6 separate regions of the Homo sapiens genome follow, and all the other regions are linked to region 6. Evidence: promoter capture Hi-C in human tissues and cell types (Jung and others, 2019). All regions are on one chromosome and are shown on one strand. Each heading gives the region's core, a stretch centred on a gene start or on the middle of the fragment in contact. The rest is flanking DNA. Distances are from core to core; before and after follow the strand shown.

Evidence for each region. The method cuts DNA at HindIII sites, captures the fragments that hold promoters and counts their contacts. A contact is called where the count stands out against the background at its distance.
Region 1: a contact is called between a fragment that was not itself captured here and the fragment with the promoter of DIRC1 in region 6, in 2 of the 25 tissues and cell types used here (heart left ventricle and mesenchymal stem cells).
Region 2: a fragment that was not itself captured here is called in contact with the fragment with the promoter of DIRC1 in region 6 in 2 of the 25 tissues and cell types used here (H1 embryonic stem cells and hippocampus).
Region 3: a fragment that was not itself captured here is called in contact with the fragment with the promoter of DIRC1 in region 6 in 2 of the 25 tissues and cell types used here (bladder and heart left ventricle).
Region 4: a fragment that was not itself captured here is called in contact with the fragment with the promoter of DIRC1 in region 6 in 2 of the 25 tissues and cell types used here (IMR-90 fibroblasts and mesenchymal stem cells).
Region 5: a fragment that was not itself captured here is called in contact with the fragment with the promoter of DIRC1 in region 6 in 2 of the 25 tissues and cell types used here (aorta and mesenchymal stem cells).

Annotation. Positions count from the first base shown.
Region 1 is chr2:188,964,947-188,969,415 of GRCh38, reverse strand. LOC105373791 (a long non-coding RNA gene) reads left to right here. Exons shown (of 3, transcript XR_007087614.1): 3 at 2,750-2,958. Among named protein-coding and RNA genes, the nearest start is that of COL3A1, 7.2 kb to the left of the region's middle. The HindIII fragment of the contact is 5,923 bases long and covers 1-4,469 here.
Region 2 is chr2:188,930,073-188,934,226 of GRCh38, reverse strand. No RefSeq gene overlaps it. Among named protein-coding and RNA genes, the nearest start is that of COL3A1, 42 kb to the left of the region's middle. The HindIII fragment of the contact is 3,820 bases long and covers 849-4,154 here.
Region 3 is chr2:188,982,477-188,986,947 of GRCh38, reverse strand. It overlaps COL3A1 (collagen type III alpha 1 chain), which reads right to left. Exons shown (of 51, transcript NM_000090.4): 2 at 1,986-2,188; 3 at 1,701-1,751; 4 at 1,170-1,283. It overlaps LOC105373791 (a long non-coding RNA gene), which reads left to right and starts at 2,129. Exons shown (of 3, transcript XR_007087614.1): 1 at 2,129-2,237. The HindIII fragment of the contact is 5,020 bases long and covers 1-3,760 here.
Region 4 is chr2:188,646,047-188,650,655 of GRCh38, reverse strand. No RefSeq gene overlaps it. Among named protein-coding and RNA genes, the nearest start is that of DIRC1, 140 kb to the left of the region's middle. The HindIII fragment of the contact is 4,565 bases long and covers 1-3,754 here.
Region 5 is chr2:188,568,286-188,573,000 of GRCh38, reverse strand. GULP1 (GULP PTB domain containing engulfment adaptor 1) reads right to left here. Exons shown (of 12, transcript NM_016315.4): 8 at 3,646-3,762; 9 at 2,881-2,973. Among named protein-coding and RNA genes, the nearest start is that of DIRC1, 220 kb to the left of the region's middle. The HindIII fragment of the contact is 4,118 bases long and covers 1-3,372 here.
Region 6 is chr2:188,788,020-188,792,692 of GRCh38, reverse strand. DIRC1 (disrupted in renal carcinoma 1) reads left to right here and starts at 2,570. Exons shown (of 2, transcript NR_161166.1): 1 at 2,570-2,830. The HindIII fragment of the contact is 6,834 bases long and covers 1-4,673 here.

The sequences.
Region 1 (4,469 bases), core at 1,248-3,747, 180 kb before region 6:
CAACACAGCTGTAACAGCTCTTCAGATGTAGCCAATTCTGTGTAAAGATAAAAGGAAGGCCCAAATCACGATCTTCTGATAGATACATGAAATAGGTCAAAGCCAAACAGGGAATCTACATGCTTCAAATGGAGACTGATTTTTAATTCCTATCAATATCTTTTCTATTCAGATACACAATGGGGGCTCAGATTTAGGATCTTTGATTCCAAATAATTCTTAAGTACACAAAAATTGAAAGCCTCCTCATCAGGCTCCCTTGCCTAAAATAAACAGACATAAACAGACCTTTCTGTGTTTAACTTGCCATGACTATTAAATTGTCTACTAAATTGTCTAAAGCCTTCATTTTTGTCTGTACATTAAATCATGTTTAAAGAACTCTACATTTAGGTATGTTCTTGGTATATGTTCTTGGAGGAAGGAGGCCACAGCAAATAGTCTCCTTTCGTTCCCAAGGATTCAAGTGTTGCCCTCTGGAGTCTTGGCTTTCTTGTGGCAATGTCCGTTTTAGAAGCATTGTTTTGTATTTCTTTATGTACTTATTTTACTCCTCTTTGTAACCTTTTTTGTTTCCTACCCTCACCCACTTTTAAAAATCATGAACAGTAGTAAACACAGTCCCTTGTACATAATGAATACTGATCAATGTAACGAAGACTGACTGAATTAGGATGGCATTAAATAGTATTTAAAATATTACGTGTTTAATAATATAAGCATTTCTTAAAAAAATCAATATAGGACCCAGACCATGGATCAGTTTCTGCTCTTCACCTCTTTATTTTATAGATATCAGATATATTTCATAAAGTGATTAAGGTGAAACATATGACTCATGAAAATAAACTAGTCCAAGTAGAAAGTCTTCACATAAAAATTATGCCATATTGATTATTCAAAGTGCTAACCTTTGGATAATAATACTAAATAGATTAATATAATTTGATTTCTATTATTTCATGTCCAGCCACTCTCTCTATTTCTCAACCCAAACCCAGCAGGATACAAAACACTATTTTAGATAATTCTTGATATGCAATTCATCTTGATCCAAGAACTATCTTCTTAGTAAATCAAATGGCTCTTTTTTTTTTTTTTTTCCAATACCTACTCTACATTTCTGGGTTTCTATACCTTTGCATATACTGTCTTTCTGTCTAAAATGATTGTTCCTCATTCTGTATGTTCAAATCCTATTTTGAAGATTCTACCCAAAGATCAACTAATCTACAAAATCTTTCTGATCCTCCCTGTTAAAATCATTTTGCTCTTCTTCTAATTTACCTTACCTTTCCTATGCCTCTTAGTTTATTTTAATTTACATCTTTTTATGTCGTTTACTAGGCTGAAAGCTACTCCAGGGAAAAACTAAGGTTTATCTTTCATTTTATACTCCATCGTAGCTATTACATGGCCTTGTGCATAGTAGGAAATTAATAAGAATCAAATGGCGAATGATTTAAAATATGAAACACTTAATCCAGAAAAACACATTTGAAGTAATCTATTTCCTTTGTATCCTTTAGAACTCATGGTAATTTTCAATAAGTTAATTATTTCCAGTATTTCCATCACTCTTAAAAAAGAAGGTCACTCTTTCCAGCATAGGAAGTCTTTGGATTTATAATCGATTTAAAAAACTTCCAGATGTTATGAATTTATTTATAAAATAGAAAAAATAAACAATAGAACTAGTTAGGAAATAAATTGAAAGCAGTCAAACTCTGTGTTCACCACAAGTATTACAAGTCAGAGACCATTAGAAAAATTTATAAAATAGAAAGAAATACAGGTAATTTACCAAGGATCATGAAAGAGAATGACAGAAAAGCCAAAAGTTAATTTCAAAATGAATTGAAATAATTGAACTAGAAATGCATCATAATTTTAATTTATTTTTATTTTAGGGTAAAAAGAAAAAAAATGACATATAAATAAGCATCATGAAATTAAAATGCTTCAAAGAGGAATTATCACACTTTTTGTTTAAATTGTTTTCATTTTTCTTGACTCAATTTCCTTACAGTGAAATTTTTAAAAGGAAAAAACTGTGCAAAATGTCAAATAAAAAAAGAAAAAATACAAATCAAAATACTGAAAATTCCTTACCTTCCCACAAATACAGACACCCCACATGTAATGTAAGACAAATGTCTAAAGCTTTATATTTTATTGCTTGATTTATTAGCTTCAATTCCCATGAGAATTGTGGGAACTTCAATCTGTTTAGTTGAGCATGCTAAGGAGACATACAAGGCAGGTAATAGTATTCTAGAGTGGTCCCTTTATGTGTAGAAATTGTAATCTATTTTTTGGTTGTTCAGGGCAAGGTTAGCTGCAAAGTGGACAACCACATTGACCTAGATTCAGCATCAGGGGTGTGTCGCCATGGATTGTATCCTGGTGCCCAGCTAAAACAGTCACTTCTAAAATTTTAGTTAGGGTGTGGCTGGCGGTGTTAGATCAACAGCTGAAGGCTAGCTGTTGGAGGTAATGTGTGATCAAACTGGGTAGGATTGTGTGAGATTTCCCTGACCCTTCCCATTTCCTAACTTGAAGTTGTGCAAGTGACATACTTTTTATGGAGAGGAAGGGGAGAAAAAAAGTACATTCGCTGGTTATTTGTTATGATGACTAACTAGAAAGAAATAAGTAGCTAAAATAAGGCTCTTGAATTATTTTATGATACCAATATTTCCCATTCAAAATATGATCGAGAACTGTTTGATCTTTTGTTATCACATAGATTTAGAGGTGAAAAAAGATACATCTTGGAAGATTTCATCGAAATTAACATCAAGCTGAAGAAGATAATTTTATAGCTGCACTTTTTGCTATAGCAAACACCAGGGCAAAATATGGCCAGACAGTCAACTGGGACAGCATGACACATCACTGGAAAAAATGATTGTTGAGTACAAAATTACGAGAAAAGTAAAATCATTGTTGAAGCCACGTTAGCATACTCTGCTCAAATTATATCTGATTCTCTAGACACGTCTTTTGGAAGATTCCCCAAAACAAAAGCAGAGGAATTACATAAATGGTTTTACAGGCCAACCTTTCTGATTTAGTGTGCTGTAAGTTGCTTACAATGTTTCTCCAAGTAGGGGATCCAGGAAAATTCCTAGGGGTTGTGGATTTTGGAATTTCACCAAGTCCTTAATGATTGCAGCCCACTAGTTAGCAAAATCCTTCCTAGCTGTTATTAAGAAGAAAGTATGACAAGGCAACCAGAGGAAACAACAGCAGCAGTGATAGCCAGTCAACATCTCCAGTGCCTATATGTACCCATCACGGTGTGTGTCAGCTTTCTTCACTGTTATTCCCACCACTACATTGCTGTAGTTAACTTTTCTTCTGCTTCACTAGAAATAAGGATAATGCTTCTCATTTCTTCTTCTCAAAAGTTTAGAATTTAGGGACAATGGGCACCAAAATTTTGGGTAAAGATATTTTACAATATTAAAGAAGAATACCTAAATATGGATCATATTGAATGGCTGCATTCCAAAAGTGCTTCATTTATGTTCTGATAGTTATAATAATTTGCTCATAATTATTACTTTATGTTTTCTGCAAGACTGGAAGCTCCTCGGGGAAAGAGTTGCGTCTGTTTTGGTGGTCACTGTTTCTTTAGCACCTAGCAAGCAGTCCAAAAGGGCAGACATTTGGTAAGGACCTGTTGACTGATGAGATGCTGAGATTCTAGTCAAATATGGATGATTCAAAGTTTTCTGGCAATATCATTATTTGTCCAATCTATTTTATATAATTTAAGTTTAAATTAACCCCCCCCCCCAATTTTCAACCTTGAGTTGTGGTTTTATAAGAAAATTATCATTTTATAATAAAAGTATCCATGTGTGAAATCTTAGGACATTTTTCTTCATTTTTTTTTAACTTCCAAATTAAAATCCCTGCCAAGTGAAAGAAACACAAGGAAACTCAAATAATTTGCCAGAGTCAAGTTTATTAACATTTTCCCAAAGCCTATCTTATTTGAACTGTTTATTTTGGATCCCTATCCAAGAGATAATTTTTTTTCCCAAAAGCTTATAAGAAAAAGCTTGGCTTGCAAATGTTAGTTTGCATAGATAAAGGCAAAAAATGGGGTTGAGTGAAGAAGAGGAAGAGAGTCTTTCACAATTAAAGTAGTCTCAGAAATGGTTTTTGACTGTGCGATTTAAGTAGTTAGCCCTAAAAAGTGTCATGCAGAGAGCTTCAATCATCTCAAAATAAAATCTGAGAAATATTAAATATCTAATGTCTGATGCAGTTCCTGGCATGTTAGTTGCTCAGCAAATGTGTATCTAATGGTGAATTATGAAATGGGCTACATATGTTGATTTTCTTAGTATAAAAAAGTTGTTATGAAAAAATAATTGTAGTTTTTTTATAATTAAAACAATAAAGCATTTCTGAATAATCATAGCTATACACACACATGTACACATATATAAACT
Region 2 (4,154 bases), core at 1,509-4,008, 140 kb before region 6:
AGTTTCCTCAGTCCTGCCCAGAAGCTGAGCAGATGCCAGCACCATATTTTCTGTGCAACCTGCAGAAACATGAGCCAATTAAACATTTTTTCTTTATAAATTACCCAGTCTCAGGCATTTCTTTATACAAATGCAAGAACTAATACACTTCCATAGATCTCAATTTTATAAACTAGATGAAGGAAAACATAGTTAAATTCTGAAAAAGGAATTCAAATTTGTAGTCTCCAAATGGATAAACTGTGGGAGCTGGGGATAAATAACAACTCGGAGTTATAAACTATATGCTCTTTGAAATAAATGGCATATTGAATGTTGCCTTGGATAGTCAAAACATTTCAGAGTTTAAAATGGCTTACTAGGAAATTTACCCATAAAATAATTGTTGTTTATTAGTTTTCCAAATGCATTTAAAAAATGAATATAATGAATATACATTTTAGGTTCAACAAGTTTGTGCTTGTTCTAATCCAAGCCAAACTTGGATTTCATGTTGCCATTAGCTCTTGAAATAGTTAACATAGAAACATACTCATCTATAGCTCCACATACTCACATGTATATAATTGATTTCTTTACAGACTGTAGCTAATTTTCTTAAAACACACAAAAGAGAAAAGTACACAGGGTAGAAAAAGTAGGTTTAGTGACAAAAAGTAGATATTAGCATATAAGATATTTTTGGTTTTAACTTTCTCTTTTAGCTATTTGAGCTTGGGCAAGTCATTTAATCACTTTGCCTCAAATTCCTCATTTGTAAAATGGAGAATAGCAATAACATCTATATCAAAAGATTATTGTGAAAACTAAGTTCATATATATATACACACATATATATACATATATACATGTATATATATATACATGTATATATGTATATATATGTATATATATGTGTTTGTGTGTATATATATATATTTTATATATATAATATATATATATATATATGAACAGGTCCTGACATAAAGTTAACTAAAGGCCGGACAAACCTCAGTTATTGTTATCAAATGTATTATCTTTCTTTTTTTTTGAGATGGAGTTTTGCTCTTGTTTCCAGGCTGGAGTGCAATGACGCGATCTCGGCTCACCACAACCTTCACCGTCTGGGTTCGAGCAATTCTCCTGCCTCAGCCTCCCGAGTAGCTGGGATTACAGGCATGAGCCACCATGCCCAGCTAATTTTGTATTTTTAGTAGAGACAGGGTTTCTCCATGTTGGTCAGGCTGGTCTTGAACTCGAGACCTCTGGTGATCCGCCCGCCTTGGCCTCCCAAAGTGCTAGGATTATAGGTGTGAGCCACCATGCCCGGCCATCAAATGTATTATCTTATACTCATTAGATTGTTATGAGCAGTGTATTTTACACATTTCTATCCATACATCCTGTATATCAAGGGCTTAATCTACTACAAACCAACTTTTAAAACACTTTATTAATGGTTTGTTCCATGTCTTCGCAGTATCTCAACTGGCATTATCCGTTTTCACCTTTGCTTTACTCTTACTCATACTATTATCCCCTTCAGCTGTGCCTTTCTCTCCTGTTCTGTATGTGTCTGGGAATCATTAATTATCCAAAGGCAAGATTAAGTTTACAGGTTATTTTTAGTTATATAAGAAAAAGGTGATATCATCTCCTTGGAACTTGTATAACATTTATTACATTCTTGAAATTAAAGAACTGTTTGATTGGAGCATTGTTTACTGTTAGCTAATTAGGACCAGAATGTTCACTTTAATATAAGCAATGTCAAACCAAAGTTCTTATTTATTGGCTGATATTTTTTGAAGGATTGAGGGACATGATTTAATAACTTTATTCCCAGCTCAGTTCTGATTATCTGATAGTTTCAAAATTAACTTTGGCTCAGTTTAATTTTCCACTTACCTTTATAGACGTATAGTTATAACACAACTATAGTAACATTCCAGAAAATTATTTTTGAGTAAAATCTTCTGTGGAAAGCTTAGTTACATTGTAATTGTTCAATTGCAGAGATTTGTTTTTGTACCTACGTCTCCCACCTATTAGTAAGTGTGATTTTTCTGTTATTTCAGTAGGAAGAGATAAGGCAAATTTTAGTTTGTAAATCAGAGAGATGGAGAAAATAAATATGAGTGTTTTATTTATTTATTTATTTATTTATTTGAGACGGAGTCTCACTCTGTCGCCCAGGCTGGAGCGCAGTGGCATGATCTAAGCTCACTGCAAGCTCCGCCTCCCGGGTTCATGCCATTCTCCTGCCTCAGCCTCCGGTGTAGCTGGGACTACAGGCACCCGCCACCACGTCTGGTTAATTTTTTTGTATTTTTAGTAGAGACGGGGTTTCACCGTGTTAGCCAGGATGGTCTCTATCTCCTGACCTCGTGATCTGCGAGACTCAGCCTCCCAAAGTGCTGGGATTACAGGCGTGAACCACCGCGCCCGGCCAATATGAAGTCTTTATTAGAGCTGATGACCACTGGGCAAAGTCTGTTCTTGGAAGCAGCTATCTCTATTGTTTGCACAGGTAATCAATTTTAGAGCTTGTGATCTCACCCTTCTTTTGCCTCAGGGATCCAGTGGTAGCCTTCCTTAGACTGGCTACTGGCCTTAAATGTGGACTGGTGGAATAAAGTGAGCTTATCCAGCCAGGTTCTCTCTCTTACAACACTGAGTCAGAAGTATGGAAATGATTTGCCAATTGAGAAAAAGATCAGAACTCAAAAAACTGCCATACATGTGAATCATATTATGACAAAATGAAGCTAAAATTTTTAGAAGTCAGAGAAAATTGTTGTTAAGAAATGCATGAAGAGAAAAATCCTGCAGTTTATGAAAGAGAAACAAAATGGTTGCTAAAATTCCCTGGGTTCTTGCTGCCATTCTAGGTCCCATTTGCAGTTCTTTCCCCTTCCCTTCCATCTCTAACAGTTTCTTTTTTTTTTTTTTTTTTTTTTTTTTGAGACAAGACTGTTTCCAGACTGGAGTGCAGTGGCACGATATCTCGGCTCACTGCAACTTCTGCCTCCCAGGTCTAACAGCTTTAAGGAGATTATTTATGTATTTTTACTTTTTCACAACAGTATGTATACATTTTTTATATAAGGTGTAAGATGCCTAGGTAGGAGCAGCAGATAGTATCCATATATTACACTAGCGGCCACTAACCTGAGGAAATGAAGATTTAGAAGGAAATTTCATAGTTGTGAGAATTATTTAACACAGAAATACATTGGGAAAGGGTTTTCTGGAATGGCTTAGAAATGGAATCATTTATACTTGGAGGGATAAATTAGATTTATGTTTGCCCAAAGAAAGTTTGAAATGCCATATCAAAGCTCTTCCACGAAAAATATACTTTATTTATCTTTTAAATGATAGTTTTCTGTGTAGTATGCATTTACAACTATTAAACTTACATTTAAAAATGAGGCCAGCTTGGTTAGCATTAGCTTTTTGATTTTCGTGCAACAAATTATTGCAAACTTAGTGGCTTGAAACAACATCCACTAATTAGTTTAAAATTTGATCATTTAGAAGTTTGGTATAGTGGGTATAGTGTGCTGGGTTTTCTGCTCAGAGTATCACAAGGCTAAAATCTACATGTTGAATGGTTTAGTTCTCATCTGGAGATTCAGTGGAAATACTACTTTTTTTCTTTTCTTTTTTTTTTTTTTTTTGAGACAGGATATCACTTTGTCGCCCAGGCTGGAGTACATTGGCACTATCTCAGCTTACCGCAACCTCCACTTCCTGGGTTCAAGTGATTCTCATGCCTCAGCCTCCTGAGTAGCTGGGATTACAAGCATGTGCCACCCTGCCTGGATAAGTTTTGCGTTTTCAGTAGAGATGGGGTTTCACCATGTTGGTCAGGCTGGTCTCGAACTCATGGCTTCAAGAATCCTCTTGTCTCAGCCTCCCAAAGAGTAGGGATTATAGGTGTGAGCCACTGTGCCTGGCCTCAGTGAAAATATTACTTCTAAGCTTATGCTTATTTCCTGCAGTTGTAGGGTTGAGGTTCTCATTCTCTTGTTCACTATCAATTGAGAACTGCTCTCAGCTCCTAAAGGTCACTCTTGTTCTTTGGCAAGTAAAGTCTGCCATCTTCAAATCAACAATGGCATGTAAAATCCTTCCTGAATTTCAAATTCTTGTTGTTCTCTTCTATAATC
Region 3 (4,471 bases), core at 1-2,500, 200 kb before region 6:
TGCCAAAAGATGTGGTATGTATTCACTAATTATCTTGTTTATCGTGTCTTTCTGTAGATTTAGACGTTAGATATCCTACAGAAGCATTTTCTTGTGGGATGCACAAATCTTTCCACTGTGTTCAATGTTAGTTCCCCCCAATTTTTCCTATTATGCGCTTACTTAAGCTATTATTTCTAAGCAGTAGCTACATCATTACAAACATAGGATCATAGGCTGTTTGAGGCCAAAAGAGTCTCGAGATCATATAATACACCTTCTCATTTTGAGCAAAAAAATGAAGTCAAATTATTTTTCAAACACTTAATGATACAAGTAAAATTCATATCCCCTGGATTCTGGTTAATATGACTAAAAGATTCACTCAAAAATAAACATCTCCATAGAAAATAAACCAAAAAATAGTAGAAAGGCTCATATGCTTATTAGATTTCTTTGAAGCTTTTTTTAAATTCTAAGTTCCAGGTCTAGAGTTAGGTTCTGTTTGGTTACTAGAATAAGAATAACTTAGACAATATACTTTGGTTCTTGTTGAATTGCTTTTTGAAATGCACTTTTTAACCTCACAAAAATTTGTGTAATATATTTTCTCGTTTCACCTAATTCCATGCAACAGAAATTTTGTCATATTTATTTGTTTGGTTGTTTTACCTGCAGATTTATTTGGCTGCCATGCTTCAGGAGAAGCAAGGTGTGCTCTGAAGTATTAGCAAGAGCAGTTTCATAGGCAGAAATAATCCTGTTCAATAGGAATACTAACAGTTCTTCAACTTCTTTTTGTCTAAACTTTTAGAGGCTTTGACATTGGTATTAGTAGGAGAATAAAGTATGGATACAGTACTAACTAAATTATTTAGGTTAATTTTTTTTGTTAAGTTCATAGTTCACTTCTTAAACATAATGTGTATGCTATATATCTGCTGAGAAATTAGCAAATTTTCCAAGGATATAGTAGCAATGACATTAGCATTATGAGGAAAAATGAATACTTATAAAGTACTTAGAATAGTGCCTAATACATAGAAGCACTAAATAAGGATTTATTAAATACACTGAATCAGAGAACAGATACAAAGAACTCATAATAGTGAGACGTAATATCGAGTAAAGAAAGAAGATGAACTAGATAGTTTTATGAGGGAATTTTTTAAGTACCGTAATTGTTATACCTGAGGACCAGTAGGGCATGATTCACAGATTCCAGGGGGGCCAGGAGAACCAGGGGACCCTGGTTGTCCTGGAATACCAGGGTCACCATTTCTCCCAGGAATACCAGGAGGGCCCTAAAAAAGAGATAAAAATAAATTAAATAGTGAAAAATCCTGGTGATTCACAATCATTATCAGATTGTTGTTTCTCTACTTTATAATATTAGGAAACAATATAAGTAATATATTTTCTTTATAACACATACTTTTTAATCAAAATCTTGTGAATAATTTAAGTATAATGTATTCCTTTGTATATTGACCTACACATTTTCTTTAAACTGATCATGGGGGTGAAGACATAATATGAAGTTTGGGAAATTGAAATCTTTACACGTACAATTATGGATTCTCAGTCTGTTGTTTGGTGCCATTATTCAAATATGTGGTAATGAAGAGAATGTATGATGAAAGCTCAAATCTAGAAAAAGCAAACTCTTACTAGAATTATCATTAGTATTAATTTTATTCTACTGAAGAATGTTTACTTACTGGATCTCCCTTGGGGCCTTGAGGTCCTTGACCATTAGGAGGGCGAGTAGGCTAATAAATGGAAAAGAAACAAGTTAAACAAGACACAGAATTTGCATATTATTTAGTAACCCAGATTCTAACCAATCCTTATCTTTAAATTGAAACGGTCACTTTTTACTCGTAATACAAACATGGCTATTTGATGAACATGACTTTCATTCCCTTTTAGGCTCCTATGATATAGGAGCTATTCATGTGTCTAAATATGAATATTGAAGATGTACAGTTTATCTTTAAACTCACAGCAGTTGGAGGCTGTGGGCAAACTGCACAACATTCTCCAAATGGAATTTCTGGGTTGGGGCAGTCTAATTCTTGATCGTCACATATTATGTCATCGCAGAGAACGGATCCTGAGTCACAGACACATATTTGGCATGGTTCTGGCTTCCAGACATCTCTATCCGCATAGGACTGACCAAGATGGGAACATCCTCCTTCAACAGCTGAAAAACAAGTTAGATGACGTGAAGTTTCCTTAGGTTTTGCTGAAAGGTGATTTTTGTTACTCTGTTAGGACTATTAACAATAGCCAAAGTTGAAAAGGTTTGAAACAAATAATTTCTTCCTTTCATTAGAAAATTATACTTGCCCTATGTAATTTGCTAAGTAGCAAGAAATTAATTAAAATATCATATCTGCTTGTTAACATAAAATTGGCACACCATAGTCAATTTTCCTTAAGACCAGCAGATATTTTAATTTCATTTATAGTAAGAATTAACATCAATGTATATCACACAAGCATTTAAACATTTATTTATTAAAGGAACATTGAAAATAAGCTCTTCTACCCAATTGCTATTCTTTGCCTTAACAGCAGATGGGAGCATTAAACTAAAGAGATGATTTTGTCACTAACTCTGAAGACTTTCTGGATTTTATCAACCTAGTTGAGAAATTCAGGGGAAAACTGAGCTAATCTTGGCAGCATAAAACTCTACCAGATTTTCCTGGGAAAGTTTTAACAGAACTTATTATGTGTATTGAATGTCACTGTTAGCTCTATTTGGCATTAGTAGCTCAACATGATATGACATAATATATTGTATATCCCATATGGATGTAAAGACATTTCCAAATCACCAAAAAGAAAAGAAAAAGATGTTTTTAAAATAAACATTGGCAAGGAATAAGTAAAAATAATAGGGAAAATATGAATCATAACCATCTGTATTTGTGGCTTAAAATGGTAAAAAAAATTGCTTCAACCAAAATTTTAGACTTGCTTCATAATTATATACAAGGTACTGAAATTTCAGCAGCTATTAACTATGAATCAGCTTAGGAATTGCCAAAACAAAACCTGGTCTCAATTCTTAAGGCATTAGCTGTGTATTGTGGTTAAATACAACTTTAGTTCTTGACAATTAGTATGATAGTTTGCCAGTAATTGAGTAAATAAATAATAAGTTTCTAAGCATCTGCAAAAATTTTTGCAAACAACAAATGATGTACTGTTCAGTAATTTATATTTTTGTGAGATGGTGAAATTTTTATTTTCTCAAAGCCAAGATATTTAAAATGTCTATTGAAAGAGGCCTGCTACCGAGTAGGCAAGTAGTTCAAAATTAGTTTTTGCCGCCTAGTGGTCAAGAGGCCTTTTAGTGGTCCTAAGATTTTTCCATCTGGGCACTACATGCAGCCACAAAAGATCACCTTTTCGAGGTCCCGTTGCTATATCATCTCTCTGTCTAGGGTAATAATAATTTAGGTTTGTGTTTAAATGAGTTGAAATGTTTAGCTGATTTAGTAAATGTTCACCAAAAAGAATTTCAAAACCTAGACTCTAGAAAGTACTGCAATTGCTTCCCCACCTCATTTCCATTTATGTGTTCTGATACAAATTTAATGATATTGTACAAGACACTTGATCTACTCAAGAAGTTTTAAAAATCCATTCTTTTTTATGTTACAATTTCTCAATGTAGTTTACAGCTAACGAAGGAAAGCTTCATTTTTTAATTGCAATTTTAAGTAGGCAAATAATTTGTTTATTTAGAAAATTTATTCTAATTCCTCCCCTATGTCTGAAACACATATATGAGAACATGGGATATATTTTCTATATACATTTCCTAAGCTTTTAAAACAGCATTTCTTAATTCTTAGTGAATATAAAAGCTGAATACCAAAATGCTTATCTCAGTGGAAATGAAGTAGGCCTATTTGAATGGTGTTACGGAAAATATATTTAATAGAAGAGCAAACAGTCATTTACACATTGGTGTGAAGAGTAATAACAGGTGAGTCTATGCATTAAACTCATTTTGTTCTCTAGACAGAACTGGCGTTTCATATTTAAGTACTAAGTTCACCAGTCTGCAGAAAAGGTCCGAAAATTTGGGTTTGGAAGATTGTGCAGTAAAATTACATGGAACACTGTAATTACATTGGTTCCTTTTCTCAAAATGAACCACTTAAAAATTTTCTCCAAATCAACTTTATATGAAATATTCCTACAGATTAGTTTCAGCCCAAGATTTTCCCATTAATAATGTGTATTTTAAGCCCTCCAGATCCATCCTCAAAAGCATTGTTAGATTGTACAGATGATTCTTTTAGCTCATTGCCTCTGGATCAGGCATATCTTTTCACACTTAATACAGCACGTGGATTATGAAAAACAGCCATTGAATACTAAAGGCATATTAAAGACAAATGAAGATAATAGTTAAAGCTAGGCTCAAACATTTCCTATTTTAAGTATCTTCTATATGTTCTTGATC
Region 4 (4,609 bases), core at 223-2,722, 140 kb after region 6:
GAAGATATGTTTTGTCTAAAAAAATTAGTTGTTCAACCAATGGCAGTAATCACAAATTTCTCCTTGCTATTTTTTTTCCTCATAAGTGCTATGACCAACTTAAATTAAGGTACTTAAATAGCTACCTAAATACCTAAACAAGCTACCTACATAAACAGTGCTTTATGTATATGAATCTCATCATATGGAAAAAGCATAGCTGGCACAATATCTTTTTATCAGTCAGATTAGCAAGAAGTAATAGAATGTGTTTAGTACCTTTTCCATTCAAATCTGTTCTTCAACTTAAATATAATTATTTTATTGACAATTACTAATACATGGCTCACTGATTCCCAAGCATTATACTAAGTGAGATCTCATAATTATTCTATTAGGTAGGCACCGATATGTCACCTCCATTTCACAATGAGGAAACCAAGACAATGAAGAAACTGAGGTTAGAAAACTTGGCAAAATGATATAGCTATTAAGAAGAAAAGGCAGGACTCTGACCTAGACAGTCTGCTTTCAGAGTCTATTCTCCAAATTACTACTCTGTATTATCCATTTCTACCATCATTTTCTTTTCGTATTTCACATTTTTAAAAAAATAACATTGTCAATTTGTCATTTATAACTACATTAAGTGAACATTAAAAGCATGGTATCATTAAATAAAAATGTATCTTTTGGCTCCATAAATGTCTTCTTTTGAGAAGTGTCTGTTCATGTCCTTCACCCACTTGTTGATGGGGTTGTTTTTTTCTTGTAAATTTGTTGGAGTTCATTGTAGATTCTGGATATTAGCCCTTTGTCAGATGAGTAGACTGCAAAAATTTTCTCCCATTCTGTAGGTTGCCTGTTCAATCTGATGGTAGTTTCTTTTGCTGTGCAGAAGCTCTTTAGTTTAATTAGATCCCATTTGTCAATTGTGGCTTTTGTTGCCATTGCTTTTGGTGTTTTAGACATGAAGTCCTTGCCCATGCCTATGTCCTGAATGGTATTGCCTAGGTTTTCTTCTAGGGTTTTTATGGTTTTAGGTCTAACATTTAAATCTTTAATCCATCTTGAATTAATTTTAGTATAAGGTGTAAGGAAGGGATCCAGTTTCAGCTTTCCACATATGGCTAGCCAGTTTTCCCAGTACCATTTATTAAATAGGGAATCCTTTCCCCATTTCCTGTTTTTGTCAGGTTTGTCAAAGATCAGATAGTTGTAGATATGTGGCATTATTTCTGAGGGCTCTGTTCTGTTCCATTGGTCTATATATCTGTTTTGGTACCAGTACCATGCTGTTTTGGTTACTGTAAAGGCTCATCATCCCTGGCCATCAGAGAAATGCAAATCAAAACCACAATGAGATACCATCTCACACCAGTTAGAATGGCGATCATTAAAAAGTCAGGAAACAACAGGTGCTGGAGAGAATGTGGAGAAATAGGAACACTTTTACACTGTTGGTGGGACTGTAAACTAGTTCAACCATTGTGGAAGTCAGTGTGGCAATTCCTCAGGGATCTAGAACTAGAAATACCATTTGACCCAGCCATCTCATTACTGGGTATATACCCAAAGGATTATAAATCATGCTGCTGTAAGACACATGCACACGTATGTTTATTGCGGCACTATTCACTATTCACAATAGCAAAGACTTGGAACCAACCCAGATGTCCAACAATGATAGACTGGATTAAGAAAATGTGGCACATACACACCATGTAATACTATGCAGCCATAAGAAATGATGAGTTCGTGTCCTTTGTAGAGACATGGATGAAGCTGGAAACCATCATTCTCAGCAAACTATCGCAAGGACAAAAAATCAAACCCCGCATGTTCTCACTCATAGGTGGGAACTGAACAATGAGAACACATGGACACAGGAAGGGGAACATCACACACCGGGGCCTGTTGTGGGGTGGGGGGAGGGGGGAGGGATAGCATTAGCAGATATACCTAATGTTAAATGACGAGTTAATGGGTGCAGCACACCAACATGGCACATGTATGTATATGTAACAAACCTGCACGTTGTGCACATGTACCCTAAAAATTAAAATATATATTAAAAAAATAACAATGTAAGCAATCATTTTGAACTATACAAGCTTTTAATAAGCAGCTTTGCATATACTATTTTTTAATTTGCTAACTTATTTTTCTTTTCTGCCATAAACAAAGAGTCATTTCCGGTATAGTCTTTCTTTACCAAGGTTAATCTCATATTTGTTGGCACCCCTCTTGTATTATTACTTCCTCTACACTATCCTCCCCTGCTTTACTTGTTTTCAAACAATTGTTGTCTTTCCATTATGGGTAAGGCTTTATACCACAATAGATTTTCTTGCTACTAAAGTATTTGAGATCATCAGGATGACTGAATTCACGACCACTTGATGAAATACTCTTGAGGGTTAAAGGAATCTTATTAATTATGACTCCCATTAAAACATATATAGAATAGACTCTCTTGAAAATCTAAATTTATGTTTACTCTAGACATGTAAGATGAGCCTTGAAATAAATACGTCTGATAGACTAAGATGGTAGAGAAGTGTGTTAATCACAAGCTGTAGAGTCATTAAAAGAAGAAAAGCCTAATGTGTGTTTAGGGAAAGTGTAAGAAGCTTAGGACAGCTGGGATAGAGACTCCCAATTCCATGGAAATACATAATAAAGCTACAGAGTGGTTATTCATAGTTTAGAAGACTGTGATCACCAGATTAAGGAATTTGACCTTAATTTAGTAGAAGGTGCAGGGTCATCCAGTGTTTCAGGGCAAGAAATGGTGAACAAAAACATAATGAACCAAAGCTTAAACAAGATTAATCTAATTGGTGATTATAGCTGATGGATCATGGCAAGCAGTTTGAAGATGGATGAGACGCCTCAAGTGTGAAGTAATAAGCTTCATACTTTGTCAAGGGTTTTTTTTTTTTTTTCTTTTTAAGTATGTGCTATAATGAAAAGATTTGATCTGACTGTTTGAGAAATCCAATACTGGAAAATTTAGTGAAACTTAAAAACTTTAGTGATGGATTTCCTGGCAACAATAATTTTTTTCCGAGACTTAGTCCAAAGTTATCTTAATGAACACAGCTGCAAAATCAAAACCTTACAGATTATACCACAATTCCCTAAGATTGCACAGCAGGAAATATAATATATATATTTTCTACTTTTTATACGTGACTTTTAAATGAAGTAGTCAAAACCATTTTTATAATTATTGATCCCCTCCACTTATATACAATCGTAAAAAATTAAAAATATACCATGTAATGCTGGGTTTCCAAACAAAATGATGGCGGAAATAATACTGTGTATTGGTATATTTATTATTCATACAAAATTAGCTCTTCTTTTATTCTTAATAATTATCTCATTTTGCAGGTGAAGAAACAAAGAATCAAAATCAAAATTATGTAACTCTTGTACTACCCAGCAAATAAGTGAAGTCAAGTAAAGTAAGTAGGGCCTTGTTACTCTGACTCTAGCTCTTTTTCTGCCCTTTTCACCAGTAATCATTCAGGAAAACAGAAATTTTCTTCTTACTGAAGAAGAAAATAAATTTCAAAGCATTGGAAAATGGTATTTTAGAAATAGTGCCTTCAAGTATCAGTTAAAAAGGTAGGGCTTTTATGTTATTCCATACTTTAAAGTGATACATATAATACAGACCTAAATTTGCTCTGTAACATGGCCAATGAAAGCCAAACTGCCATGTATTTCTACACTTAGCACTAACGAAAGGACTAGTTCAGGAAAAATCTTAAAAATGCATATTAGTGATACATGTTAGTACTAATATTAGTGATAAAACACCTACCTTGCCTGGATGAAAACTTCACCCATTCTTTAATTCTTTAAACAGTAGAATGTGGCTTTATTATGAGTGTATAATATCCTTGAACTCTATTTTCATTCTAAATGCAAAAAATTCACAGGTAGATTTATATGACTGACTATGACACAAATACAATTTCAAGCGTCTATTATCTCCAAAAATAATTTTTCTCACTATAAAGTTACTTACAATGTTTTTACTTTAAACTTCTTTCTTTATACCTGGATGCAGGCTTTTATAAAACAGTGTTTTGTTCTGTCCTCACAATAGTCTAGCCAAGAGGGGGTCACTAATTACTAACCTGGCAACATGTGAGTCTGCCCCTTATAATGAGTCTCCACACATGCACAAAAACTTTAATGTACATTTGAATTACCTGGAGATTTTGTTAAACTGCACAGTATGAAGTAGTAGGTCTAGTGTGGAGTCTGAGACTCTTCATGTTAAGTAAGCTCTGTGATGCCTGCTTCTGATTCTCAGACTGCTGTTTGAGTAGTAAGACTATGGTAGCACCCTAGCAGTAAAGAACACAGAAGGTCATTTTCAACAGGATTCTCACAGCACTGTGAATACAAGATACTTGGAAAGTTCCTTGATACTGGGAATTGCAGAGTTAATGCCAAGGCAGCTGCAGTAAACGTGTAAGTATACTCAGTACAGTGCATTCCACACAGTTGAGGCTAAAGGAATGAATAATCCAGGGAAGATCCTAAAATATGTTAGTGACAAATGTTAAACCTAATGCTAATGATGATAAAGTTTTCTCTATTGCCTAGA
Region 5 (4,715 bases), core at 64-2,563, 220 kb after region 6:
AACTACTCTTGGCAATTTTCAAGTATATAATACCTTGTTATTAACTATAATCACCATGTTGTACAAGAGATCTCTTGAACTTATTTCTCCTAATTAAAATGTTGCATCCTTTGATCATCTTCTAGACCCTTTCTCCACAACTCTGCCCCAGCCCCCAGCAACCACTAGTCTACTCTCTGCTTCTATGAGTTTGACTTTCTTGGATTCCACATATGAGTGACATCACGTGATATTTGTCTTTCTGTGCATGGCTTATTTCACTTAGTATAATGTCCTCCAGATTCTATCTTAATGAAGATGTATATCTTCCAGCATATCAACAATTTAAAAAATCATATGATAAGATTTTAAGAGCTAAAAAGCCATGTGACAAATAATTTTTAAAGTTAAAGAAAAAGTGTAGACAACAACATTACATGACAAAAGACTATAAGTAGATTGCAAAGTTATAATTTGTTATTTCCATAATGATCAAGGATACAATAAATTTTCTACATATATATGAACTCAGTGTAAGACCGTGATTTAAAGAAAGTGATTTGTTTTTAAATTCAACCTCTTAGTTGTAGTTTTTGAAGCATTTTATTTAGATAAATCCAGGCTGAGATGAACACAATGCCTAAAATAATTGTTAAATGATGTAACCTCAGGAGTGCTAATTCATTTTAAAACATAGCTATTTCATTATTTTTACTCTTTATATATAACTGGCTCTACTAATGAGAATTGCTAAATAAATGAATTATACTTATGAATAGGCTATGTTTCATTTATATACCAACTTGCATGCTTTCCACTTGAAATGGCTATTTCAGCCAAATGGTCAAAGACACTGAAGCAAGGGTCATCTTGTCATTCCTCCTGTCCTTTGTCATTTCTGAAGCTGACTCAGTAACCCTATGAGATCACCAATGCACATTAATAATCCTGACCCACCTTCTTCTCAGAGCAGTGTCTGCTTTGGGAAGATAAAAAAGGTAGGCTGCAGTTTTATTAATATGTTTGAAACCTCTTTGCTCCTCTCAAATGTTCTTCCTCAGATAAAGAGGTTACACAATGACCAGGTTTGGATTTGCATCCAAGAAGGTGATGGAGCTTATTTTACTCCTTTGTCAACACAAAAATGAAAGCAAAGCTACTCTTCATATGTGATGAATTCCAGAAACAACTACGTTATCAAAACTCCTTGAAAAAGTTACTTCCCTTCACATAAATGAAGTACATTTATTCTTATTCTCCTAGCATATTTCGCAACATGGCTTACAATATGAATTTCAACAAAACCCAAGAGGATGTGTGTTCCATCTTGGGATGGAAGGTTGAATAATGAGTTTGAACTGATGTTCTGTCCCTAGCAGCGAGAGAGGCAAGAAAAAAATCATAATCCTGGTGAGCAGCAGACAGTGACAAGAAAAAATAAGAAGGAATATCAGAATAAAACCAGAACCTGAAGAGGATGCTCCAGCATAGATACATTGGTACCTCAGTCCCAACCTCTCTCATCAAGGCCATAGGAGCCCTACTGGCACAAACCATCTGCCAAGCAATGGAAATACTCACTCTTTCAAATGGGAGGTGGAAAAATGTGAGTTTACAGGAAAAATCATTTTTTGACCCATTTCCAGAGTGTGCCAAGTTTGAAACCCTAAATGAAACTTCTATAGAAACATCCTTTTTCATAGTGATGAGCTTGTGAATGATTCTAGTATTAGATATTAAGAAATGAACATTTTCATTGAGTTTATCCTACGTATTGAAGCACAATAAGCTTCCATAAAAAATTTTGCAACAAATTTCTTTTTTCAGTTCATGTTTATGTTATAAGTTAGATATTAATTTTTTTTGAAACAGAGTCTTTCTCTGTCACCCAGGCTGCAGTGGAGTGGTGCTATCATGGATCACTGCAGCCATGACCTCTGGGCTCATGCCATCCTCTTACCTCAGCCTCCTCAGTGGCTGAGACTACAGGTGTGTGCCAATATGCCTGGATAATTTTTTGTATTTTTTGTAGAGACAAGGTTTCACCATGTTGCCAGACTGGTCTTGAACCCCTGGGCTCAAATGATCTGCCTGCCTTGGCCTCCCAAAATGTTGGGATTACAGATATAAGCCACTGTGCTTGGCATAGATATTAAATATTTTTAAATGAAGAATAATAAATACACTTTAATAAAGAATATCAGTAGTACAGATGATTCAAACAGAAAAATATCTTTTCCTGAATATATTTTGCCTAGAAAAAATATTGTTTTAAATTCCACCTCCCTCCAATAAATTCCCTTTGCCAAAATCATGTAATAATGATATCATACATGGTATTGGGAAAAGGATTTCAAAACTGTGACAAGTCAGACATAAATATTTTAACTACAAAGACTTGAGTTTTGTCTGCAGAGAATACCACTCATTTTAATGTTTGAAATACAATTGCCTCACTCCCAGCGGGAACCCTTACCATGTAATATAAGAAACCAGGTTCAGTCTTGCTCACAGTTGAATTCCTACAATGAAGTTGAGCACTTCAAGGGGAGACTGGCATAGGTCATTAAATCTAACCCAGCAAATAGTAATTAATAGAAACAAAAGAAGAATATGCCACAAAGAGAAAAATTATATTATGTAATAAAACTTAAGACTAACCTGAGGGTTGAATTATGTTAGAAAACCCAGAGGAAAACAGCAACATAGAAAACAACTCTGATTTGAACTGACTAGGTAATTTTAAGTTTTAAATTAAACTGCTTAGCAGCCTTCATCTCTATCCATGTTTACTTTGAAATTACTGATCCCCAAGTATTATATGAAATATTGCAGAACTAGTGATACACAGATGTTTTATCACCATAAAATCTTGTTTCTAAGGATATTCAATATACTCACTGGAGGTGCTGATACTTGAGTTATTCTCAGTTGGTTTTCCAAATCTTGTACTTTATTTTTAAGTTCCATATTTTCTGTTTCTAAGTCTTGGATCTAAAAAGAAAATCATTATTGAATAACTTTCTGTTTTTTTTTTCTTGGAAAATATTGGCTACAGTTATGAGTAGGAATTTATATTACGTAAAACTTTAATGTACTTTGTTGTGCGTGGGGAGAAAATTGTTTGATAAAGCTTGGGAAATGCTGGAGGATTCTAGATCATTGAAAGACTTAAATTTATAATATATTTTTATGTGTGTGCAAATTTTATGTTCCTAATATCTCAACATTGTGTTTTCTTGTTGGACTGTGCAATCTATACCCATAATCTTGGAATATAACCACAAGACAGTGAAACTTGCTTATGATGATTTTGAAGAGTGGAGAAAGGCATAATTTAATTACCAAGGAATCTGATCTGCATGGAAAACCACTTACCCAGCATCTGCTGCTTCTGCTGCTCTGATCCCCATGAGAAGCATCAGGAAGTGAAGCAAAGTCACATGAGAACACTAAGTTCTTGTGGGAATTCAATATAAAATAGTTAAAAAAAAAAAACTGTGCAGGGGATCAGGAACGAAAAATTATGGGAACACGGTGAAAGCAGTTCCAATCAGTCAGTGTGGGTGAAATTTAATGGCAGGGCTTCTAAATTTGTTTGACGATATGCAAGTTTCCCTGTACTTACATCACACAAATGTAAAACAACAAGCTTAGTTTACTCACTCTTTTTTGTAACCCTGCGATCTGTTTTCTTGTTTCAACATCTTTTCCTCCTGATTCTAGAAATTTCCTGTATGCCAGGTCAAATGCTTGGCCAATTGTTAAAGTGATCTCTTCAGCCTGTGTAAAAATCAAACAAAGATTTGCATTTTAATAATATGTCAAACTGTTTTTGAATCGAGAAAACAACATTCATATAAGCACTTACTCCAAGACATTCACAAGAGGTACTTCAAAAGGGCAACAGTTGGGAGTAGAGATGTATTAAATGAGCAAGGTAGTAGGCTAATGTAATAACTCAACACCTACCCAGGCACAACATTGAAAAAACAAGCGGACTTGGGGGTGGGTATTACTGAATAGCTGTTGAAGTGGGAAAGTTGGAAGCAAGAGTTCTTTATGTCAAACTTCTCATCTCTTTTATTGTATTGTTTTTTCCTACTTGTTTTTCTCCCTTTCTCAAATATTTAGTGCCTATGAAATGAAAGCAGAGTGCCAAATGTAGTTTCTCTCCTTGCTTTGCTATTTATTTCCTTTTCCTTGTGAGGAGGGTTTGTTAAACCCTAAGCAGGTAACTTGAATGAGGCTGGCCAGGTGGTGTCTCTGGAAAACTTGAGGTATGCCCTCTAAATGGAACACCTGCTACTCTGTCCCAGTTAATTGTTGCCTGGTGGAAGTGAGCAATTCCAATCTGAAACTGTCAGATCTTATGTATGAAAGATGAGGCCAGAAGTCTGAAATTTTATATGAGAGCTCCCAATTTTAAGCGATGGTAAACAGTTTGTATTTTGGTAAAACACAGTGCCAGTGATCAAAATATATATGTCATCTGAATTTGGGCTTGTAAACAACTTACAATCTCAGATCTATTGATTTGAAACTGCCACAAATATATCTTACATCCACAAGCTCATTTCTTCTCCATTCATATCTCCACTGAATTCATAATGTCTTGCACATAGTAAAGACTAAAGATTTATTTACTTAATCAACATTATAAAGAATTTTGGTAAAGGCATCAATAAGATTTAATGTTGTCACAATTATGTCATATTTAGTAAGACCTCCAGATA
Region 6 (4,673 bases), core at 1,321-3,820:
ACCTGGCTAATTTTGTAGTTTTAGTAGAGACGGGGTTTCTCCATGTTGGTCAGGCTGGTCTCAAACTCCCGACCTCAGGTGATCCACCTGCCTCGGCCTCTCAAAGTGCTGGGATTACAGGCGTGAGCCACTGCTCCCAGCCAAGGGATCTCTCTGAATATTTAAAACTTCAGAAGTGGGTTGTAAACCATTCTGCCAGCTGCCAAAGGAGAAAGGTTTTTATGGTCCAGCTACAGTATCACAGAATAGGACAAAGAAGTGTGGATTTGGAGCTGAGAGGCAATAAATCAATAACCTGGCACATGCCACTACTATTTAACTTTGTAATAGAGGTCCTACACAGTGTAATGAAGCAAGACAAAAAAAATAAAATGTGTAAATATTGAAAATCATGGAGCCAAATTTTATTTACTGATAATTGACCTGTTTCCTGAGATATCTACCAAGAAAAAAACCTACCTAATAAGTGAATTTGACAAGTTTTCAGGATACAATGGTATTAAATTGAATTTTATTTGCATATACAAGCACCAAATAATTGGTCATATTAAACTAAAATAATTCCACTTTAAATGGCATGCACAACTGCTAAGTAAAGACACCTGAACTAGCTAACTAGTAAATAAGACCATGTGGAGAAGAAATCAGTCATCCACATTCTGTATAAACTTCCTACATGTGAGACCAACAGGTGAATTGCTCAGACAACACTCCCTTTTCCTCAACTCCAACTGTGGAGCCATAGAATTATGAGCAAAGAATATGGTTTTTATTTTAAACAACTAAATTTTGGGGTGGATCACTACACATCAATAGATAAGTGATAGAATTCTTTCAGCTGTTTTGTGCAAATTCTGATTTCTTCTTTGACTCTTGGGTTGATTAGGAGTGCATTGTTTACAAATAATTGGGAGATTTCTAACTTTCTTCCTTTGTAGTCAGGGTTTGTACTATGAATGATTTCTGTTGTTGAAATTTATTCAGACTTGTCTTATGGCTTGAAATATATATTTTTAGTGAATTTTTTTTCTACTTAAAAAGGATATTTATTTTGTAGTTCTTTGGGATAGAGACCTTGTATTTTAATTAGTTCAAGTTTATTGTGTTGTTAAATTATTTTGTATCTTTACTAATTTTGGTCTACCTATTGTAGAGGTGGTATTTACATCTCTGATGATAATTTTACAAGTTTATCGATCATCTCTTTATTTCAATAATATTTTGCTTTATATATTTTAAGAACTGTTATTCCATATAAATATGGAAGTATCAGCCCTGTACTTTTTAGGTAAATGTATAATAGAAAATATTAAGTAAGTTTAATTATTGAGATATAAATACTTCAGTCTGTGCTGTTCTCTCTTTTTCCTGTTCAACTACTAAAATCAAAATAATAATACAATAGTCACTATAAACTGCCAGTCTTCTTTGTGTCACATATTTTATACATTGTTTATAATTATTACATTTAAAAATAGATATTACCCTTCCTATTTCATAACGTAGTCAATTTATGACATGTAATATAAGGTAAACAATGTTACAGGGATTTGAGTGAGCAAAAATTTGTCTGAATCCAGAAGTCTTCTCTCAATGTCCATGACTACAATTAGTTCCATTGTATTTTCCAATGCATGTTTAAATATCTTACATTCAGCCATCATTGACTATTGTTGAAGTTGATTTTTAATCATTTGTTGCCTGAACTTCAGAAATCCTCTTAAGATTAATCATCACCGATTGTCCAGACTGAGCTCTAAATTGCCCATGCCTATCATAGCATGTTTTCCAATTCATCACTTCTTGAACTGTCACAAACTATAGTATTACGAAAAGTGTTGTATTTCATTGTAAATGTGTGAGCTAATATGTTGGGTTTTAATATGTCACTAGTTTTAGCTTGGGGACCAGTTTGGCACACATGTAAAATTTTACACAGATGTGTTAATTCCTCTAAACATTTTAATTTATTCCTAAAGCTTGTATTTGTCCACAATAGATTTTCTCTTAAAACAATGTTTTTAGTATCATGCCAAGTGTTAGCTTTAAGGACAGCCAGAAAAAGAGAAAATAATTATGTAAACTAAATTTCAACAGCATTTCCCTGCCTTTTGAGATCAGTAAGATTGATTCAATGTATTTTCCACTGAGTTCAACCTGTATCTCAAGAATTTTCAAATTTCATCAGAATTTATGATCACTTTCAGCTCTTAAGTCCTGCTTAGTGTGAATCAGTTTAGGGATAATCTAAATGTCCAATATGTATTATTATGTTTTGCATTATATTGTTTTAGATGTGGATCACTATACTTTTTCTTAGTTATGCCAAACTACTTATAGAAACTCTTATATGTGTAAAGGACTACTGAGTTATAGGGGATGTAGAGATTTACACTGCCAAAAGGCTCAAGATGTAATATTCTATGTTAGATATTGATGTTCCTAAAGTTCCCTCTCTCCTTCCAAATCTTGGGCTTCAGATTCCGATCATGTAGGTTAAATCATCTTTTGTTGATTACTCATGTTTTTAGTTTCTCTCTCCAAATTCCTATTGATTTCCAAATACAAAGCAGTTTAGTTGTGTCTCTTGACATGGGCAGAGTTTCTCTTGCCCTTAAAGTCTTACTTTCCACTTCTAAATACCTTCCAAGATGTTTTCCTCCACAAACACAATATCTTCCTTAAAAGATAGACCCTGCATCAGTTGTTAAGCTAACACATCTTTCTCCTCACTACAAATGTATCACTATTGAATTTCTCTCCACAAGTGTGAAGATGGCTGGAGTAGAAATTCTGGCATTGCTTCTCATCACCAGAAGGAAAAATTCAGGTGAGCTCTGTCAAAATGGTGGGTTGGCTATGGCACTCATTTCTCAATCATAAGATTTTAGGCCAGGACAGTCTACTCTATTAACATAGTCTGAAGAAGTGATCTTTCCTTTTACATTTATAGAGTCTTTTCTTACTAGTGATAATAGACATGCTGTAAAGTACCTCATATCCTAAAACCTTTAGTTTTAAGTATACAGCGAACAACTTAATTTAACTTCTATACAGCATAGACAAAATATATGATAAGTGACTATGTCATTTACATTTAATGGATTGGGAAATGTTATTTTATTTAAGGAAAGTTCTTCTGTAAAAATGTGTCTTCTTTGACATTGTTATGTGTCAGCTAACTCACATTTTCAAAGCTGGAGTGCAGATATTTCTGAGTATATATATATATATGTGTATATATATGTGTGTATATATACGTATATATATGTATATATACGTATATATGTGTATATATACGTATATATGTGTATATATACGTATATATGTGTATATATACGTATATATGTGTATATATACGTATATATGTGTATATATATACGTATATATGTATATATACGTATATATGTGTATATATATACGTATATATGTATATATACGTATATATATGTGTGTGTATATATATATATTTGGTTACACATAATACTATTCCTGTCATTTTCTTCAAGAGTTCAAAACTATTGTGGAGTATTTTTATTTTATTGTGTGTACTTCTAAATTCTCACTAGAGTTTTACTCTCATGACAGTCATAAATTGCTGGTTCTTTTTCATGGGAGAGGGTAAGATTTCCACAGGGAATAGCTGCCTTAAAGAAGTATTTTACATATTAAGAGTTCTTAAAGTAATTTTAATTAGTCCCTCCAAAATTATTTTTCCTTGAAGCTGTTTGTTTAGAAAAATTTGGTTCTTGCTTTTTAGCATTAAGCTGTATAGATTTTTAAAATAAACCAAACACATAAACTTTTTTCTCTATCTTTCTTTCTTTGTCCCTTTTATTATGAAATGCATTCTGTGCCTATCCAGCTGTGCTGGCTGTGTGTCAGTAATGTGAGTCACTGACCAATGTTCTCCCACACATGAACAGGAACTAACACAAAGAAAAATAAAAGATACAGCTCTTGGATTTTGCTTACAGCCAAACATTAGGGAAAGGAGGTAATTGTGTTATTTCAATGAAGTTTGATTAGACATATTTCTTTGTATTTGTGAATGACATTGCTATTTTCAGTTAGTTGTAGGAGATTAATGTGATGGAACTGCAATTAGAAGAGAAATGACACTGAGAGATCTTTTAATTATATTTTAGCTAGGAAATCCCTTGACAATATCAGCAAACATTTTTACTAAAATGACATGAAAACAAAACATCAGTGATAAAGTGAAGACTGAATATGGGTTTCTTAAATCCATAAATTCTTACAATAGCCGACCTAATAAATATTCGTCTACTTCTTTCTGTTTTTTCATGTCTTTCTATGTGTTGATTAGAATTACAGGATCTGAGAGCTGGGTATAATCTTATAAGTTATATGGTGAAATATTTTAGAAATAATAGTCCTAATTTTTACAGATAAGAATACCAAGTTCCAATAATCTTAAAAGATTTGGCCATTCCCATACAGATAAATATTGTCAGAATCATCAAGTCTAGCATTTAGTCTCATGATCTTGTCTACTGTGATTTCCAGTACACTCCCTTTATTACTCCCCTCTCTTTTGCTGTAATTATTAGCAAAGATCCTTAACTCAGTGAATTGATGGTGGCTGGCGTTTAGCTATTCCTAACTTGTCTGATAATTAAATAAAATTGTCATTTGACTCATGTCACCAA